Regions from separate parts of the Homo sapiens genome. Here all the other regions are linked to region 1. The links are contacts of gene promoters, found by promoter capture Hi-C in human tissues and cell types (Jung and others, 2019). All regions are on one chromosome and are shown on one strand. The core of a region is centred on a gene start or on the middle of the fragment in contact, and the rest is flanking DNA. Distances in the headings are between cores, read along the strand shown. Region 1 holds the start of PPIA (peptidylprolyl isomerase A). Region 2 has its middle 5.6 kb from the start of TBRG4. Region 3 holds the start of NACAD (NAC alpha domain containing).

What was found. The method cuts DNA at HindIII sites, captures the fragments that hold promoters and counts their contacts. A contact is called where the count stands out against the background at its distance.
Region 2: a fragment that was not itself captured here is called in contact with the fragment with the promoter of PPIA in region 1 in 1 of the 25 tissues and cell types used here (dorsolateral prefrontal cortex).
Region 3: a contact is called between the fragment with the promoter of NACAD here and the fragment with the promoter of PPIA in region 1, in 2 of the 25 tissues and cell types used here (heart left ventricle and psoas muscle).

The regions. Positions count from the first base shown.
Region 1 is chr7:44,794,906-44,799,197 of GRCh38, reverse strand. PPIA (peptidylprolyl isomerase A) reads right to left here and starts at 2,517. Exons shown (of 5, transcript NM_021130.5): 1 at 2,405-2,517. The coding sequence starts at 2,473. It overlaps LOC105375259 (a long non-coding RNA gene), which reads left to right and starts at 2,668. Exons shown (of 2, transcript XR_007060300.1): 1 at 2,668-3,130; 2 at 3,774-4,082. RefSeq lists silencers at 2,047-2,396, 2,417-2,686, 2,777-2,976. The HindIII fragment of the contact is 11,905 bases long and covers 1-4,292 here.
Region 2 is chr7:45,115,180-45,119,471 of GRCh38, reverse strand. No RefSeq gene overlaps it. Among named protein-coding and RNA genes, the nearest start is that of TBRG4, 5.6 kb to the right of the region's middle. RefSeq lists a silencer at 395-494. The HindIII fragment of the contact is 8,492 bases long and covers 1-4,292 here.
Region 3 is chr7:45,086,845-45,091,136 of GRCh38, reverse strand. NACAD (NAC alpha domain containing) reads left to right here and starts at 2,168. Exons shown (of 8, transcript NM_001146334.2): 1 at 2,168-2,309. The coding sequence starts at 2,243. The HindIII fragment of the contact is 12,529 bases long and covers 1-4,292 here.

The sequences.
Region 1 (4,292 bases), core at 1,268-3,767:
GTACCCATGTCTTTAGGGGCTTCTGAGTCATAAATTCATTTTCTCACTAGAATACTTCTTCAGTAATTACTTTAATTCCCAAGAACTGCTCCTGACAGCCATAAGGCCCTGCAGGCAGTTGGGTTAAGAAACATGAAACCCAAAGACATGCCAAAAATCCAATACTAGTCATAACTTAAATAGTGAGACTTCTAGAAAGTGTCTCAAACTTTTAGTACATCACACCTACTTCTGAAAAGATATATGGCTTCTTAAATGTCTATCACCACCCCCCAACTTGAGCTAGAACTTACAAGGCAAAATTCTAAGGAACAGCAAGCACTGCTGCACGATCAGGGGTAAACAGCTGTTCTTTTAGTCACTTGTAATGAAAATGCTACTACCTCCAATCTGTTAACATAGCTTTATGGATTAGATGAGCAGTCACTTCTTGGTATCCAGGCCCCTTACCTAGTAGTGGGGTAAAAAATAAAGATTGGTTTCTAGTATATCTGGTTTTGAACCTTTCTTGAATGTATAATACGTTATGGCTAGAGAGGTAGCTTAAATACCATAAACATTTACAAGCCCTTTCATAAAAACAGCTTGTTTAAAAGTAGCATTTTATAAGCTATTTCACAGATGTGACTGAATTAACTACTAGTATCCGTGTGCACTTCTCTTATAGCAATGTACTTTTTTTTTTTTGAGACAAGAGTCTCACTGTCACCAGGCTGGAGTGCAGTGGCACGATCTCGGCTCACTGCAGCCTCCGCCTCCGGGGTTCAAGCGATTCTCCTGCCTCAGCCTCTAGAGTAGCTGAGATTACAGGCAAGCGCCACCACGCCCAGCTAATTTTTGTATTTTTAATAGAGGTGGGGTTTCACCATGTTGGCCAGGACGGTCTCAATCTCCTGACTTCGTGATCCGCCCGCCTGGCCAACGTACTTATTTTTTAGTTTTTAGGTATTTGTACCTAGAATGTATGGTCTTTCTAAAACATCAGCTTTTCTCAGAGCTTTATAGTCGGTACGTTTAAGTTCCTATGGCTTCCCTTTCAGACTTTCGCTAAAGCCAAAGCCCTCATTGGCAGTTACCCCTCCATTCTCATCAAGACCTGCAAGTCCTTTCTCATTTCCCTGAAGCTCTTTGGGTAACCTGATGCCCAACATTAGGTCAGGCCAAGTTTCCACGAAAGCCCTTGTCACTTACCAGCTTTGACTACACTCATAGGTGGGGTGGGGTGTGGATTAACATGCAGTGTTTCAGTGCCTATGTGCCAGGCACTATGGACAGGGTAGGCAACAAGGAAATCGCTCTGTCCTCACGAAGACTGCATGAGGATCAATCTATTTTCGGAATAAGATCCCAAACTAGCCATTGGTGGCCTTTTGAGATGTGATTTAAAGGAATAAAACCACTAACATCCTATTTCGCTACTCCCTAAGGTCTATCCATGTTAACTGGAACGGAATCGTACTCAATATTTAACTTTGAAGACACGCGCCAAGTTTAGATACTATGCTATAATTACAACTGATCTTTAAGAACTCATTTAACGCTCTCAAAACTAATTAGGTAATCACTGGTAATCCACCTTGGTCGGAAGAGGCCTGCCTTGTGGCCAGTCGCAACTTGCTTGCTAGGCAGAGGGACAATCGGGAGGGGCTCAAGAGCGCCTCCCCCGCCAGCGCCGTCACTGCAGTGGAAGGCGGTCCTTGGGCACCAGCAAAGGCAAGGCCCATTTTCACATTTCCGCTTGGGGGTGGGGGACACGGAGGGACGTTTGGGGCACATGTATAAATATTCCTACTTTATCCAAATGGAAGATATTTCAAGTGGCAACCCGTCACATCCCAGCAAGTCTCCTTTTATAACATGGCCTCCCGGGATCTACAGGACCGAGCATGGACGGGCTCACACCGCGCCTCGATCCTTGAGAAAAACCCTCAAGCAAACAGCTTCCCAGCTCAGGATGTAAAGCACCCATGCCTGCCAGGGGACAGCTTCCCAGGAAGGCGGTCGCAAGCCCCCGCGAGCGTGCTTCTGGCTCCGGTCTGCGGCGCCCAGGCCAAGCTAGGGCGGAGCCCAACGACTCTCAAGGCGCGGACCTGAGCGCGGCCGCCGAGCACGTGCGTCGGACAGGACAGGGCGCGGCCACATGAGGCGGGCGGGCGGACGCGGGCCCCCTCCCCCAACGGCCTCGCAGCCGCCCCGCCTGCCTTTGTCCGCCGCCGTCCCGGCCTCCTCCCCGCGACTCGCGGACCTCCCAAAATGGCCCCTCGTCAGGAAATGGCGCCGCAGCCCGCCCGCGCTCGCCCCTCAAGCAGGGTCGCCCCGCGCCCGGGCCTTTGGGGCGCTACCACCCACCCCGACCCCGGCCCACTTTCTGGGCCCCATTCCCGCACGCCGCCGCCCGCCCGACCTCAAAGGAGACGCGGCCCAAGGGCTCGCCGTCGACGGCAATGTCGAAGAACACGGTGGGGTTGACCATGGCTAATAGTACACGGTTTTCCTCGGCGGTGGCGTCTGCAAAACGGCACGAGCCTGGCCTCCCGCCCCTTTTATACCACGTTCGGCCCCGCCCGCAACCCGGTCTCGCGCCTCCGTCCCGGCCAATCGGGTCTGCGACTTCGCCAGAGTGACAGTGCATCTGGCCTATAGACGGAAGCCGGCGCTGATGGGGACGACACATGAGGCGCGCGTGCGCGCTAACGCGCGGAGGCAGGTTCCCGCCTGCGGGCTCCGTCGCGGTGGCTGCGGCATGGGACTCGGGGCGGGGCGGCAGTACGGGACGCGGGGCACGGGGGAGGGTCAGTGCGGAACGGGGGTGGGCAGCATGGCGCGCGCACGCGGGAGACGGAAGCGCGGCGGCTCTTCGGCCGTTGTCAAGCGATGAGGCGCGTCTCCCCATTGCACAGAGGGGGCAACTGAGGCGAACGCAGGCCTCAAGGTCGCGCCGCCAGTCAAGGTCGACTGGGGTCCCGCGCCCGGACCCTACGCCTCCGCGAGCGGAAATGGGGATGGCGCGTCCCCGAGACCTAGGAGCAGCCTTGCGTCCGCATTCCGCGCGGGCAAACACCACGTCGCGTCCTACCAGGCAATGTCAGGAAGGAGGTTGCCTTTGAGCATCGCTGTTTTCTCTAACGAGGTGGGACAGGAGCAGTCTCCGGTTTTGAGAGATTATGAAATGCTTTCAAAATGCTCTACTTTCCGAAAATATCTTACACTCTGCTTGAATCTTCTTCAGGAGGAAGCCATTAAAACAGGAGCCTGGCCAGGCTCTTACCTGTGAAGATGCATTATGCACATTTTGCCCTCTTACTCTTTTTGAATCTCTGCTCCTGGTCTTTCCCTGCCCCCGCCCCGCCCAGCTCCTACCGCCCCCGCCTCGGGGCTGAATTGTGCTTTGATTTTTGGGTGAAAGATAAGTCACAATTTAAAAGCGAATTTCTTCAGGCAAAGACATTAATAATACTTTAATTAAAATGCACTTGTAGGCCAGGCGCGGTGGCTCATACCTGGCGCTTTAGGAGGCGCGGAGGCCAAGGCCGGGGAGGATCGCTTCATCTTAGGAGTTCGACACCGGCCACCAGCCTGGGCATCTTAGAGAGACGCCGTCTCTACAAAAAAATAAATAAAAATAAAAATTAGCTGGGCGTCGAGGCGCTCGCTACTCAGGAGGCTGGGCGGGGAGGATTGCTTGAGCCCGGAGGTCGAGGCTGTAGTGGGCGGTGATCGCATCACTGCATTCCAGCCGGGACGACAGAGTGTGACCCTCTCTCAAAAAATAGGCCGGGTGCGGTGGATCACGCCTGTAATTCCAGCACTTTGGGAGGCCGAGGCGGGAGGATCACCTGAGGTCAGGAGTTCAAGACCAGCCTGGACAACATGGTGAAACCCCATCTCTACGAAAAATACAAAATTAGCTGGGCATGGTGGTGCGCACCTGTAGTCCCAGCTACCCCCTCGGGAGGCTGAGGCAGGAGAATCGCTGGAACCCAGGAGGTGGAGGTTGCAGCGAGCAGAGATGGCGCCACTGCACTCCAGCCTGAGAGACAGAGACTCCGTCTCAAATAAATAAACAAAAATATAAAATAAAATGCACTTATGTGACTGGTGTTTTGTTAAGAAAACCTTACAAGGGAATTCATATATCCTGGGCTGTCACTTAAGTTGCAATATTAAGGATATTATTTAATGTTTCTTTTTGTTTTTTTGAGACAAGGTCTCACTCTCACCTAGGCTGGAAGTGCAGTGGTGTGTTATCGGCTCACTGCAACCTCCCCTTCCCGTGCTCGAGCAAGCGTCCC
Region 2 (4,292 bases), core at 817-3,316, 320 kb before region 1:
AAAGGAGGACCAGCAGGTAACATGGTCACCTTGTGGCACCTGGCCCAGCAGCCTGAGACACAGGTATGGGAAAGGTGGGTCAACAGGTCCCGTGGAGGCCCTGTCAATGATGCACTGTGTTGGTGGGAAGCCAGCAGCCTGCTCTCCCAGGCCAGGACCCCTGCATACTGCTGCACCAGGCCTGCCCCTCCCCATCTCAAGGAGAAGCTACCAGGAGGTCCTGCAGGCTGGAGGCCAGCGGACATACCCTTTCCCCATCCCCGTCTGTCCCTGCCCACCAAGGCCCAGCACTCAGCCTCCCATGCTGGTCAGGTGCTGGGGAGAGGCAGGGCTGAAATGGAGCCGTACCACCTCCATGCACTGCTGCTCATGCTGGGACCCTGAGGCCAGCCTGGGCAGCTGGAACCACCCAACCTTGTCTAGCCTGCAGCTCAGAGTTAGGCTGCAGGAGACACATCCATCCCCTGATGCTGGAGGCTCCTCCCCTACAGAGAAGTTTCACCCTGCCCTGGCCCCTGTATTGACTATGTTTCCAGCTTCTGCAAACAATGCTTTAACATCTGCCTTGTATGTATATGCTGGACAGACTTGGTTCTGCACCCTGATGATGGGCCTGAATCACCTTGCCTTGGCCTTCTGCCTCCCTCATCAGCTCCTCACCTCTCAGGAAGAGTCCTCCTCCTGGGCAGGGTACACTTTTCAAACACAAACCAACCAATCCAATGCTCACACCCTCAAACACCTCCTCTATGGGGCTCTCACACTCTGGCCACTATGGACTTGCTCTAATCACTCCAGGGCCAGGTATCAGACAATGAGGGACAGCCCTTCTGCTCCAGGCCCTGAAGTTACTCAAACCACCCAATCCTAAACTGTCGCCCTGCCTTACCTGTTCTTTCCCACAGAAACCACAGTAAAGGCTCTTGCCCACCACTCCCTGCCCCATTCCTCTGCCTCAGGGCCAACCCCAGTGTTTTCCCATGTGGCCCCTGTGGTGTGGCATGTGCCCTTCTCTCCAGAACTGAGAGTAATAAACTAGCTTCTCAATGGCAATCATCTCCTGATCCATCAGTCTTCATGAACCTCAAATTTTTTATTAATACATGATATTTTAAAATAGTCCCAGCCGGGCACAGTGGTTCACGCCTGTAATCCCAACACTTTGGGAGGCCGCCAAGGCGGGTGGATCACCTGAGGTCAGGAGTTCAAGACCAGCCTGGCCAACATGGCGAAACCTTGTCTCCACTAAAAATACAAAAAATGAGCCGGACATGGTGGCACACACCTGTAATACCAGCTACTTGGGAGGCTGAGGCAGGAGAATCGCTTGAACCTGGGAGGCGGAGGTTGCAGTGGGCCAAGATCGCACCACTGCATTCCAGCCTGGACAACAGAGTGAGACTGTCTCAAAAAAAAAAAAAAAAAACCCTTTCATATTTTTCCATATAAAACACTGCTTTAAGTTTTAATGTTTTTTCCCCCAAGACAGCCCAGCCTGTACCCTACTTGGGTAGATTTTACAAGCTGGTAAAACAGCCCCCTTTAGAGGCTGAGCATCCATGCCAGAGAGATCCATGGGGCCACTCCACCATCTCCCACTGCATTCTCATGGCAGCTGCCACCGGAGCTCCCAGGACTCTGATAAGGTGGACCACCTTGGCCCCTTCCCAGCTCCATCACCCGTACCCCCAGAGGCCTTCTCACCTGCACATCTGTTAGCACAGGTACTCAATGTCAGTGGCCTCCAGAGCAGGAGCCCAGGTTGACTGAAAGCCAGGAACGGCTATGAGCTGGGCCCTACTGGTGCAGGACAGGGCTGGGTCCACTGGGCTGTGGCTGTCACGACCCACTCTGCACACTGTACCACACCTCTCACCACACTGCATGAGGAGGGTGCTGTGGCCTTCTTGGTGGATGAGAAGGAAGGATGGATGAGATGTTCTGTGGATTTCTGGAAGGGTTGGCAGAGGTCAGGACTGTTGGCCCTGCTGAGGGTTTCCTGCTGGGGGTGCAAAAGACCCACCACTCTGAGTCCAGCTGGGACAGAGCCCCGGGCAGGCACAGAAGCAGGGGGAGGCCTGGGGCTGGTGGCAGAAGACCTGGACACTCACTCTCCATGTGTCCTTAGGCAAGTCCTGCCCTCCCTGGGCCTCAGTTTGCCACATAGATAGCAGGGTAGAACAGGCTGTGTATGGCCAGAGCAGGGAGCCAGGCTGACCTTAGACTAGCCTTTGGGTCTGATTCCTCCTCTTATGCAGGAATCTGAAGAGACATCGATTCCATCAGGCCCTGAAGAAGGGCCCTTCTCTGAGAAAGTCCCTCAACAGGTTTGTCAGGGGTCCCCAAGACCACCCCAAGGTTCTGTGACTCTCCAGAGGAACTCACAGGACTCAGTACACAGTCATACCCTTGGCTAAGACTTAAAGAAAAGGATACAGAGCAAAATCTGCAAAGGGGAAAGGTACATGAGGTGAAGTTGGAAGAAACCAGGCATGAGCTTCCAAGAGTTCTCTTCCAGCAGAAACAAGAGGGAGTCACTACTGGATTCCCTCAACAATTAGTTGTGATGACACGTGTACAATGCTGTCTACCAGGGAAGCTCATAGAGACTTGGTGCTCAGGGTTTTTATCAGGAGCTGGTGTCTGCCTAGCATACACCAAAATTCCAAACTCCCAGAAGAAAGGCAGGTGCTTAGCATGAGCCATGTTGTTGTACAAACAGTTTAGGTGCAGGGAAGACCCCTGCCCTTTATAGGAAGTTATTATCAGTATAAGAAACTGTTTGCCAGCCAAGTTTCCAGATGCCAGTCAGAAGGCAGCCTCAGGTGCTGTATCAGCTTCTGCACTCCAGAGCTCATATCAACTGTGGTTTGATTCCAACTGGAGGGAAGGTGAATAGACAGGAGCAGACAGAAACAGGGTGGTCAAGCATCCCAGTTTGCCTGGGACTTGAGGCGAGGAAGGGTAGGGGAGCTTCCCAAGACATGAGACTTTCTATGCTAAAACCAGCATGGCAAGTGGAGAAGTTTCAACATGTGTTTTGGAGGGGTCAAGTATTCAAACCACAACAGACGCTAACTACTTAGAGTTAGCACAGACCTCACAGGTTAAGGGCTCAGTCCCACAACACTGCCCTCACTTCAGGTGCCAGTCACAAGTAGTGGGTCCCAGACTATCCACACTTCTGTTTGACTTGGCTACAAAGCAAGGTTTCCCATGACCTGCTCTTCAGGTTTAGTAATTTGCTATAAGAGCTCACAGAAGTCAGAGAAACATTTTATCTACTGCCTTATTCCATCTGGGCTGCTGGAACAAAATACCATAGACTGAGTAATTTATAAACCCTAGAAATGTATTGCTCACAGTTCTGGAGATTGGGAAGTCCAAGATCAAGACACCAGCAGCTTCAGTGTCTGGTAAGGGCTCTCTCCCTCATAGAAGGTAACTTCTTACTGTGTCCTCACATGGCAGAAGGAGAAAGGGACAAACATGCTCCCTCGGGCCTCTTTTATAAGGGCACTAATTCCATTCACGAGGGCTCCATCCTCTTGACCTAATTACCTCCCAAAGGCCCCACCTCTTAATATCAACACTTTGCAGATTAGACTTGAACATACACATTTCGGAGGGACACAATCAGATCATAACATCTATGTTTACTAGTTTATTACAAAGCATATTTTAAAGGATACAGATGAACATCTAGATTAAAAGGGTCTTAGGGGCCAGGCACGGTGGCTCACACCTGTAATCCCAGCACTTTGGGAGGCCGAGGCGGGCGGATCACGAGATGAGGAGATCAAGACCATCCTGGCTACCACGGTGAAACCCTGTCTCTACTAAAAATACAAAAAATTAGCCGGGCATGGTGGCGTGTGCCTATAGTCCCAGCTACTCGGGAGGCTGAGGCAGGAGAACGGCATGAACCCAGGAAGCGGAGCTTGCAGTGAGCCGAGATAGCGCCACTGCACTCCAGCCTGGGCGACAGAGCGAATCTCCATCTCAAAAAAAAAAAAAAAAAAAGTCTTAGGGCCAGGTTCCAAAGGAAACTGTTCCTCTAATCACAACACTTCTGGAAGAATCTCAAGCATCAGAGCTTCTGTTCCCATGGGGTTTGGGAGGTGACACCTTCCCAGCATGTGGATGCATTCACCAACTTGGAAGCTCTCTGAACCCCATTGTTTAATAAGTTTTTATGAAGTTTCATTACCTAGGTATAATTGATAAAATCATTGGCCATTAGTAATGACAGTCAAAAGAAATGTTTTTATATGAGGAATATGAGCTTCCTC
Region 3 (4,292 bases), core at 919-3,418, 290 kb before region 1:
CCGAGATCATGCCACTGCACTACAGACTGGTCAAAAGAGCAAGACTCCATCTCAAATTAAAAAATTAAAATTAATAATAATAATTTTTACCAGTTTCACTGGGGAGCTGCTCAGCAGAACTCCCCATGCTTTCATTCTGGAAGTCAATCTGCCTTTTATTTCTTCTTGCTTTATTGCAAGGTTTAGAAATTCCAATAATATGTTGAAAAGAGTGGTGAGTGCGGACACCCTTGCCTTGTTCCCAATCTTAAAAAGCATTCAGTCTTTCACCATTAAGTATGATGTTAGCTGTATAAGTTTTTTATATAAGATCTTTATCAAGTTTATTTTTAACTTGCTGAAAGTGTTTTTTTTTAAATCATGAATGATGTTGGTTATGTCAAACACATTTTCTGTGTCAACTGATACCAAAATTTTTCTTCTTTAGCCTGTTGGTGTTCTGGAGTATTGTTGATTGATTTTCAACTGTCAAACCAGCCTTGCATACGTGGAATAAATTCCACTTGGTCATGGTGTATTTTTTTTATACATCATTATATTTGATTTGCCAATATTGAGAATTTTTGTGCCTGAATTCATGAGAGATGCTGGTCTGCAGTTTTCGTTTTGGGGGTCTTGGGGTGTATTGACACTTTGTTAGTTTTTTTTTTTTTTTTTTTTTTTTTGAGACGGAGTCTCGCTCTGTCGCCCAGGCTGGAGTGCAGTGGTGCGATCTCGGCTCACTGCAACCTCCGCTTCCCGGGTTAACGCCATTCTCCTGCCTCAGCCTCCTGAGTAGCTGGGACTACAGGAGCCCGCTACCACTCCCGGCTCATTTTCTGTATTTTTAGTAGAGACGGGGTTTCACCACGTTAGCCAGAATGGCCTCGATCTCCTGACCTCGTGATCCGCCAGCCTCGGCCTCCCAAAGTGCTGGGATTACAGGCGTGAGCCTCCGCGCCTGGCGACACATTGTTAGTTTTGACATCAGGATATTTCTTGCCTTATAAAATGAGTTAGGAAGTGTCCCCTTCTCTTTTGTTTTCTGGAAGAGATTGTTTGAAGTTGATGTTAATTCTAATGGTGTGGTGTGTCTGACTCCTGGGGTACAGCGGGGAGAGATGCCCAGCAGGCAGCCAGGTGTGTAGCACTGAGCCTTGAGGCAGGTCTGGGGGAGTCAGAGGGCAGCCCCTGGCTTCATGAGCTCAAAGTTAGAACCCACAGAAGACTGAGGATGTTGAAACCTCCCTCCCTGCCTGTGACAATGGCTACTCTGATTCCCCCCACCCCAGTCAGGGGTGATGACAATGTCTCATTCATCTGTCTCCCTGGTGCCTGGCACGGGGGAGGAGGGGTGCTCAGTGAATCTGGGTGGCGCAGTAGCCTGTGTGAAAGCAAGAGGCATTTCAGGAAATTCACGGGGCGGGCTTCCTCCTGGGAGGTGTGGCAGAGGGTGCTGCCAGGAATAGAGGGAAACACTTTCTTCCTTTTCCTTCTACTGCCTAGTGTGGGGGTGGAGGGGAGATGATAGGACAGATCACCGAGTTGCCTAGAGACCTGGAGACCGACCCATCCGGGTCGCCTTCCCTGGTGCGCTCTCGTCGGCTCCATCCCTGGTTGCCATGGAGACAGGAGGCGGTTGCCACGGAGACCGACGACTGCCAGGACCAGCCAATCACTCCAGAGCTGCAGCTCCAGCTCACCTTTTGCATGGAGGCATCGGGCTGGGCGGGGCCCCCTCCCTCCCCAGGCCCTGCACCCTCTGCTTGGTCAGCGGGGAAGGAGGCTGCGCCGCCAACTCCACCCAAAGCGCTCCGAGCATCCCAGAATCCCAACCACCTCCCCAGCCTCCCACAACCAGGGTTCTAGGGGCGTCCCCGCCTCTTCCTGGCCACGGGCGAATGCCACCCTGAGGCAACCCAGCTTCCAATTGGCCCTGAAACCCTCCCTCGTAAATGCTGTGGAAAGGGTGGGACCGGGCGCAGGCGCCCACCCCCGCTCCCCCACGAAACCGCCCACAGCGAGAGGGAGGCCACAGCCGGGTGGGGTGGGGGCGGGGAGGGAGCCCCCCCTACGCCCTCCGCAGTGCCTGGCGAGCCCGCGCACGCTCACTCGCTGGGACAGGCGGGCGGGGCGGCCTGACGTCACCCACTGCCCCCACCGCCCGGCCGAGGGGCGGTGGCCGCGCAGGCTCGGCGGGGCGGCGGCACGGACTGACGGAGGGTCGGAAGGACTGAGGGACGGGCGGGCGCACGGCCAGGCCATGCCTGGGGAGGCTGCCCGCGCCGAGCTGCTGCTGCCCGAGGCGGACCGACCCGGGCCCCGCACAGGTGAGGCCGTGGCCACTCTTTCCCTGCCTTCAGCCTCTCCCCTCTCCAGCCCGGGTTCTCTTTCCATCGCTCACCTTTCACCCCTCTCCCCCATCCCCCTGGCCCCCCTCGAGTCCCCTCCCCTTTCCGCGCCCTGTCCTTCCCTCCATCTGAACCCTGCTACCGCCTCTCTCAGAACTGCGGGGAAGGTGGGGCGCACGAAGTGCCCGCCGCGAGCCAGAAAGAACGTGGGGGCTTAAGCCCTTGGCTTCCGACCCAGGGATCGTGGGGCTCGCATCCCGCCCGCTGCATCCCGTTGTTTGCACCGAGCTGCCAGCCTGCTGGGGCTGGGCCGCTCTGGACAGAGGCAGCGGGTTCTGGAGGCGGGGTGTCCGGCTGATACCCCCAGTACGATCAGGTGACCACCGGGAGGGTCCTCAGTTGCACCCGGTCTGTCCTGGGCCGGCGACTGGTCATGGCTCTGGAGGGAGGAGCAGGACTGGCCAGAGCCTAGGAAGCCCGGATGGAGGGCCAGGTGGTGGAATAAAGCCTAAGTTGGGTCTGGAAGGTGGAAGGCCTTGGGGGAGGTGGCCTGATTAGCAATGGCCCTGGGTGTGCAGACCACCTGTCCTTAGGCTGGGTCAACAAATGCTGGTGGAGGCTGATGGGGTCTACGGGGCCTAGAAAGAGCCGAGCCTGGACAGTCCTGGCGTGGAGGTCAGCCATGTGTGGGTAGGGCCAAGGGCACCTTGCTGTGGGCAAGAAGTCACCCAGAGATGGGACCACTGCTGGGGCCTGGGGCCTGGTTTGGGGTGACACAGGCTGCTGCCTCTGCTCTAGGTGGGAGGCAGGGAGTGCAGGCCCAGACTTCCCAGCCCCAGGGTCTTGTGCTGGCTCTGTTCTGGCTTGCTTGGTGACCTTGAATGAGTTATAAAAACCTTTGGCCTTTGGTTTCTGCTCCATCCCAACAGCTCAGCCGTTCCCCTGCCCTGGGGGCCACACCAGGGGCCAGAACCAAGAGCCCAGCTTCAGGGCACCCAGTGATGCCCCACCAGCCACGCCCACTCCTGATGTTGGGTGTCAGGCATGCAAGAACCCAAAGGACCCCCTTGTCTCAGGACCCCCTGGATGTCCCATCACCCCAGCAGCAAAGCCCTTGGGTGACAAGTTTTGGCTGGTGGTTCAGGGCTCAGGGCTCTGATGCTGCTGAGGGGAGCTGGAGCAGCCTGGCAACAGGGTCCCCCTTCTTTCAGCTTCAACTCTAATCCTGGCTCTGCTTTGTAGATGAGAAAGCTGAGGTGCAAGAGATGTTGTCCTGGTCACCAGTGAGTGCGGGAGAGCAGGAGCCACCAGGCAGGCATCTGCAGCCTGGAGAGCTGGCCCCTGTGTGCCGCCGCTCCCCCACCTTGGGCAAGACCTGGCCTGGGCTCTGAAGGGCCTTCATTGGATGCTTCAAACAGAGGTGCCTTTGGCCTAGGTCCAAGTGAGGGAGTGGACATAATGGAGACATTTAAAATGAAGCTTATGAGCATTTAGAGCACACAGGAAAATGCTTATGAGATTAGGTTGGGTGAAAATAGCTAGATTCAAAACTGAATGTGCAATGTGATCTCGCCTGTGATAAAATACAGGCCAGTAAGAGTCCAGGAGGCAGAAAACCATAGCGGTCTGGTGTGCCGCAACCTCGGAGGGGTTTTCTTCCATCTTCCTGAGTCCCCTAAGTCCTTTCTGACCCATGAGGGCTACTTCCTATGGACTCCTTTCTCAGCTGGAGGTGTGTTAGCTCACAGACGTTTACTGAGTACCAGAGCCTCCTCATACTGAAGCCTGCCCAGCGGGTTGGGGGAGTGCATCATGGGACCCAGAGAAGGCCCACAGGGCAGGGTGGGAACTCCCAGCACCCGGGAAGGAACTGGTGGTCACCCATGGGGTGGCTGCCACCAAGGAGAGGACTCAGCCAGAGGCTGCTGTTGGCCCTCTGAAGCTGTCCTGTGCTCTTGCTGG